Regions from separate parts of the Homo sapiens genome. Here region 1 is linked to region 2. The links are contacts of gene promoters, found by promoter capture Hi-C in human tissues and cell types (Jung and others, 2019). All regions are on one chromosome and are shown on one strand. The core of a region is centred on a gene start or on the middle of the fragment in contact, and the rest is flanking DNA. Distances in the headings are between cores, read along the strand shown.

Evidence for each region. Contacts are between HindIII fragments. The study calls those that stand out against the background at their distance.
Region 1: a contact is called between a fragment that was not itself captured here and the fragment with the promoter of DCP1B in region 2, in 1 of the 25 tissues and cell types used here (aorta).

What each region holds. Positions count from the first base shown.
Region 1 is chr12:2,348,192-2,351,419 of GRCh38, forward strand. All of the region lies in intron 3 of CACNA1C (calcium voltage-gated channel subunit alpha1 C), which reads left to right. Among named protein-coding and RNA genes, the nearest start is that of CACNA1C-IT3, 80 kb to the left of the region's middle. RefSeq lists an enhancer at 3,154-3,228. The HindIII fragment of the contact is 4,220 bases long and covers 1-3,228 here.
Region 2 is chr12:2,002,765-2,006,129 of GRCh38, forward strand. It overlaps DCP1B (decapping mRNA 1B), which reads right to left and starts at 1,693. Exons shown (of 9, transcript NM_152640.5): 1 at 1,518-1,693. The coding sequence starts at 1,667. It also overlaps a transcript of CACNA1C not described here. RefSeq lists enhancers at 775-1,414, 1,739-1,968. The HindIII fragment of the contact is 10,654 bases long and covers 1-2,781 here.

The sequences.
Region 1 (3,228 bases), core at 436-2,935, 350 kb after region 2:
GGCAGTGCAGCGAGGCGCCAGCTGTGCCTGACTCCTGAGGCCTTCTGCTCACCGGAAGGGGGGCAGGTCTGCAGCCCCTCCCCCACTGCAGGGCCAGGACAGGCCGTCCTGAGTGCTGGCCCTGAGGATCTAGACCCTTTGGATCCTATGTGCGGGGGACTTCCCAAGAGCTCCCGGCCCACGACTGAGTCACGCGGCTTCTTAGCAACTTAGTCAATCCAAACGTGGAGGTGATTGGCATATGTAAGAACCCCCTTTCCCGTTGGCGTGTATGGTGTCTTCTCGCTGAGCCACAGCACCTGGTTTAGGGCTACAAATAGTCTCCCCGAGGGAATGGGCTCATACGCCGGGTGGGCAAGGATTTCAAGTCGTCGGCACAAGAAGAGACACTATATTAAGGCCTGGTTATGTTTAGAAGCCGTCCAGAGAATGTTTGGCATGCTGAATATAAACTCATGCTTCCGTCTGCTGCCACACTTTAAGATTTCTCCCAGAGGGACCCAGAGTGTGGGGCGCCCTGGAGAAGGAGCTGGGAATGTCTCGGGGGAAAGGTTCCTTCCTCGGGAACTGGGTGGCATGGGAGAGTAGCTTCAAGCTTGCTCATGGCTGGACTTCCCAGACACAGGGTGGGGCTGTTGGATGTTACCCGTCATGTCAGCATTCAGAGCCCGGCAGGAAAAAGCCTCCTTCAAAGTGAACCCAATTCCTAAAGTCCTCCTTAATGGAATTCCTCTTAGAGGCAGGCATCGACTGGCTAACTGGTATGATACTTTGGAGTTCAGTTAGCCCAGAATGGTGAAGAAAATGGCTGTCACCCAAAACACACTGAATTGAAGGACGGTGGTGCCAGAAAAGACTGTGGGTTATCTTATCCAGCCCCTTCATCTATAACATGGGGAAACTGAGGCCTAATAGAGGATGGTGACCTGCTCTACTGATGGCATTCAGCACTACACCAAGGTCACGGGAGGGGTCTGCTCTAATAGCATGTTCCCATGGACTGGAAAACGTCAGAAGGGTAGAATACAATACAAACACCGTTAGGACTGAGATGTGGCCAGCATGAAGTCCCATGGTCCTGTGTGAGTGGAACCTTGGTGTGGAAAGTGGCCCCTGGCAGCGTTGGGACATAGAGCAGTTTGGGTGGGGTTCTAACTGGGTATGGAATTTCAACAGACTCGCAGGGAGATTCTCTAGTACTGTCTCAATTGGAATCATCGTTTTTTTTAAAGTTAAGAAGAAAAATGGAAGGGCTCAGGTGAAATAAACATTTTACAAGCAGATGCTTGCCTCTGCCAGCCTGGGGGCATTTTGAGTAGGGGCGCAGCATGCAAAGCAGAGAAGAGCTCCCACGTCTGCCCCCTGCCCTCCTCCCCTCTGGAATTTTAGCCCCTGCTTGGCATTGCCATGGGTGTGAAAGGTGGTGTCTGGACTCAGGAGGAAGGTACTGCAGAGGGTAGGAAGAGCTCTGCAGTGGTCCCACGGATCTGGCTTTAAACCAGGAGCTCTTGCGAGTCTGGAGCTACGTGAGTTCTCTGAGCCTCTGTTTCTTCATCTGCAGAATGGGGATAGGATGGTTGTATGGGAGGAACGCACCTTGCACAGTGTCTGGCACACAGCACCCTCCGAAAGGGGCTCTCCATGTACTAGGTGCTCAGGAAAGATTGCAATCTGACTAGGAGTTTTGAAATTTGTGATTTACTTAGTCTTGGGGAGGAAAGAAGAGTCGTTTTCCATGGATCAGTATGTGTAGATGTGGTTGCAGAGACAGTCAGAGAAAGAAATGGAGCCAGGACAAAGGGGTGGCCCCAGCATTCACGAAAGGTTTCAGAATTCCTTTTTGGGTTTTTGGCTATGACACCCCTCTTAGGAGTCATGTTTGTTCACTGTCTAGTGAGAAGGTGATCTTCTAGTAACCTCCTTTTGGGGGGCCTATAAGGAATTCCTTCTTGCTGTTCGTGCCTTCTCTCACAACACTAGTGTGAGACCAGAGACCCCACCTCACCTCCATCAGGTGAAGATCCAAAGCAGAGAGGAGTCCCTGACTGGACCTTCCCCAGGGGTGGGTTGTGATGAGATGAGTGATTATCAACACTGAGTGAGGGGTGGTCATGGGCCAGATGCTGCTGAAGCCTTTACTTCCTAGCAGCCTTGTTAGGTAGGAGACTGTGACTCTCCCATTTTACAGATGAGGAAGTTGAGGTAGTAAACAGTCATATAACTTGCCCAAGCACACACAAATAGTGATGTTGCTTTGATTTCAGCCAGACAGTCTGGCTCCAGAATCTGTCTCTTTCATCTCTAAGCCTTTTAAGTAGCAGAAAGAGAAAGATCAAGGGGGCAATGGGGCCTGAATGTGTCCACAATGATGGCAAACAGAAGAGGAAGTGTGCTGGGCTGCGGGGCCATTGATGCCCATGAACTGAAGAGCCCGAATGCCTGGATGATGAATGGCTGGTCACCCCCTCATATGGGCAGCAGAGGCTGTCTTCAGGCTCGGCGGCTCAGCTGCCATTGGCCTGAATGGAGTCCTCTTTTTTCCAAGCCCTTTCCCCTGGACAATTGCTGAGCTCTGCCCCCTTTCGCAGGCACCTCCCCATGTCGCAGGACACCAGAGTCTTCAGGTTGGAAGGACCCTGGAGGTCACCCTGTTTATTCTTCCACCTGACTCAGGAGTCCTTTGTAGCCTTCTTGGCAGGACCTGTCGAATCAAGCAAGGATGATGGAGAAGCCCTTGGATGTCCATCTAGTTGATAGAAAGTTCTTGTTCATAAACTCAAGCCGAAGGCTGCCCTGGAGCAGCTCCAGCCACTGGCCCTAGCCAGGCCCTCTGGTCTGTTCCCTCGGGCCCCTTCTGAAGGCAATTTCTGAGTGAACTGTTTCAGATACTCTAATGGAAGTTTCTTGGCCTTGGCCCTATTGACATTTGGGGATGGATAATTCTTTCTTGTCTGGGGCTGGCCTGTGCATGGTAGGATGTTTAGCAGTATCCCTGGCCTCTACCCACTGGGTACCAGTAGCAGTCACGCCGTACCCCCAGCTGTGATGACCAAAAATGTCTCCAGATACTGCCAAATGTCCCCTGGGGCGAAGGTGGCCGAAATCGCCTGGGTTGATCTGCTGTTCTAATTCTGCCTTGCCCAGTGCTCAGAGAGCAGCCCCCACCCCAGCCTCCGATGGCCATTGGCTGAAGCAAAACCATCTCCCTTCACCTGGCCTCTGCTGAAG
Region 2 (3,365 bases), core at 443-2,942:
TACCTTTAGCATTTTTCTACAGAGCAGCAAAATAGCCATATGTAGAATATCTTTTTATATATTTTTAATTACCATGGAGGAAACTGTCTATGTTGCTCAATGTTCTTTATGTAAAAACGAAGGTGACACCTCGAAAAAACAAACAAACAAAAACAAACAAAAAAAGTAGGTGACAAATTCCCCTGGAAACTAGGGGGAAATAACCTCTTTCTCCTGATCAAGAGGTACACTTTCTATTACAGAAGAACGAATATTAAAGAGCTCTTCCTGTTCTCCTTTTGTGTTTGGCTACTAGGAGAGCAGACCTAAATTCTTTGCCCCATTCCGGCAAATTTCCTCCGTTAAGAACTTTGGGCAAAACTGTTTGTCTACCCCATTCTTGCTTGTCTTTTTATTTTTATGTTAATGATTTTCAGGTGAGTTTTTTACTACAGGCTGCTGAACTATACTGCAGATAAGTAGGCTTATGAATGTGGGTGTTAAAAAAAATACAGAGTTGTTCAACATGGATGTTTTCCTAGATTAAGTTTTGATGTTTATACAACCGACTTGAAGAACACAAAAAGTTTATCTGAAATCCATTCATCAAGGCTAAGTTCTCCATACTGTTTTGTAACTTATTTTAAAATGATGGATATCATGTATGTGATACATAATGGATGATGAATATTATTTGGACAAAACTCATTATGAGTAAAGAAACAAAATTACATGTCTCTACATTCGAGTGGGTGGGTTACAAAATTACAAGCAGCAATCCCTGCAACAGGATTCCAGTGTTCTAGGCTTCTACCCCATTCTAACTATGAGGAAAATGAAATTTCATTCCATTACCATTTACTGGGACTCTGCTTTGAGAAGAGCACTAAAATAATTTGGCTCCCAAATGACCTCCAATATCGAACTTGGTGTGCTGCCGTGTAATAATCTTCCCAAGAGCATCAGCTTCCTTCTAAGTGTTAGACCCTGCCCCATTTTGTCTTTTATTTGACGAGGTTGGCTCTTTTCTTGGTGTTTCCCCTTAAGTTTACAACTTGCAGATTTCTCCCCTTCTATCAAGTTTTGATTTCTCTTTGCCCCATCTAAGACTGACATTCCAAAATCAGAACTCTGCACTTTTATTCGTCTGCTGTCCCTGCCTCCCCCATAGCCACAGATTCACTGTAACAGAACTCTGCTCTACTTTCTCGAGCACATCGGTCTTCCGGCCATAAGGTATCAGGTCCTTCCTTTCCTTCGGCTCTTATGGTGCCGTACCCGATCGGTCTGGTCTCCCAGCGTTGGGTACGTTAGAGATTTAAGTCTTTTCCCCAACTCCAGGTAGCTCCACAGATCCGCCTTCCTTCCCCCAAACCCCCGAGACCCCATCTCCACAACTTCGGCCTCAGTCCCCAGATCCACCCACTTCCAGGGCGTCAACGTCTCCTCCCCCTCACCGGGTCCTCAAGTCCTGAGTCTGACGCCCCCCGCCTCCACCCCAACCCTGGGCTGCACTGCTCCGCCGCGTCCGCACGCACCCACTCGTTGGCCCGATGGCCGAAGGTGTACAGAGCCACCTGGCTGGCCACGTCCACGATGCGGTTGATATAGGGGTCGTGGCGCTGCAGGGCCGCTAGGCTGATGTCGCGCCCCTTTCCCACCAGGCCGCCTGCCGCCACGGCTGCCATCTTCCCTCCCTCCCAGACATAGGCACGGGGCTCTTGGAAGCCACTCTCAATAGATCGCAGAACGAGCGAGCTGCCTCGCAACCGAGAACCCACGGCGACCACACGGCCCGGGAGGCCTTCCGGCTCCAGTCACCCCCACCCTCCTGCCCGCCGACAGACGCAAGGCCTCACTAATCGATGGCCGCGCCCCGCCCACTGAGGATCGTTGCCACTGGCAACGACAAGCCCAGGCCTGCCCTCTGCATCCCGTTTCTTTCTCCAAGAGCTGTTTTTCTACGCGCTCGAGCCTTTGAGCTGTGTGTGCGGTAGGATTTCCTTCTTGGATGTGTTCGACCCCTTGGCATATCTTTTCTTTGGCGCTTCAGTGATCAAATCTATCACAATAAATAAGCCTCGAGCATCAAGAACTCTGAAGAGAAAGAGAACTGAATTGATTTCTGAATGCGCTAACACCCAGTGGTTCTCAAAGTGTGGTGTGGTCCTGGAACCCTTTGGGAGTTTCTGAGACCCTTTCAGGGGATCTGCAAGGTCAAAAAAAAAACAAAACCTTTTATGACAATGCTGAGACTTACTTATTTGACTTGTTCACTGTGGTGACGTTTTGCAGACAATGGTGGTTAAAAGCGCCGGTGGTTTAACCCAATCAAGGCAGGGGCACCAAACTGTATTGCTAGTCAAAGTACGCGTCACTAATCTGCACTCTCAGTTACAAAAGAAAAAAAAAAAAAGAAGAAGGTAGAGAGCCAGTGTCACCTGATGGTGTTCTTGATAAGCAGTAAGAATTATTAATTTCATTGAAGCTTAATCCTTGGGTACAATTCTTTTTAACATTCTGCATGAAAAAATAGGAAATAGGCATAAAGCACGTCTGCTGCAAAATGAAGTGTGTCATATTTGTCTCTAGGAAAATACTTCTGTGCTTGAGTTGTAGGCCGAATTCATGTTTTTATTTTTATTTTCATAAAACATTTTTACTTGAAAGAAAGATGGGCAAACTATGATTATTCAAACAGGTACTTGACAGACATTTTTCTGAAAATAAATAAAGTGTGCCTGTCACTTTCAGGAAAACAAGGGACAATTACTGCTGCCAATGATAATTTTTAAGCCTTCAAGCCAGAATTAAAAGTTTAGAAAATGTGTATCTACTGCCATGAGCTTGACATCTCAGTACTTAATGTTTTTTTTTCTGATGAGATCAGTGATGATATTAATGAGCGCAATTTTAACAAATCTTGTATAATGGAAAGTGTCAATATCTCAAAGATCTGCTTAACTCAGTGGTCCAGTATTTTCCAAAAGACCAATGTCTCATGCTACATAATCATGCACAGGCAAAAGATCCATTCAAGGACAAGGTGGACTAATGGATTTTTAATGTAACAGTATGAAAAGTTAATAGGATTTCAGATAGTACATTGCAGCTAAGCTTTGAGAAACTCCAGCTTGTCAAGTTTTGGTATATTATCCAAGAAGAATATCCACAATTGTCTGAAAAACTCTATTAAAATATCCATCTCTTTTCCAACTACATTATCTACATATGAGGCCAGAGTTTCTTCATATACTCCAAACAAAACACACATAGCCCGGGGTCTTTAAAGTTATTTTTAATTTCCAATATGGTAAATATAGGTGGGTATAACTCACATAAACAAAAGTTCTCTGAGGGAGTCCTTAATAATTTTTAAGAGTGGG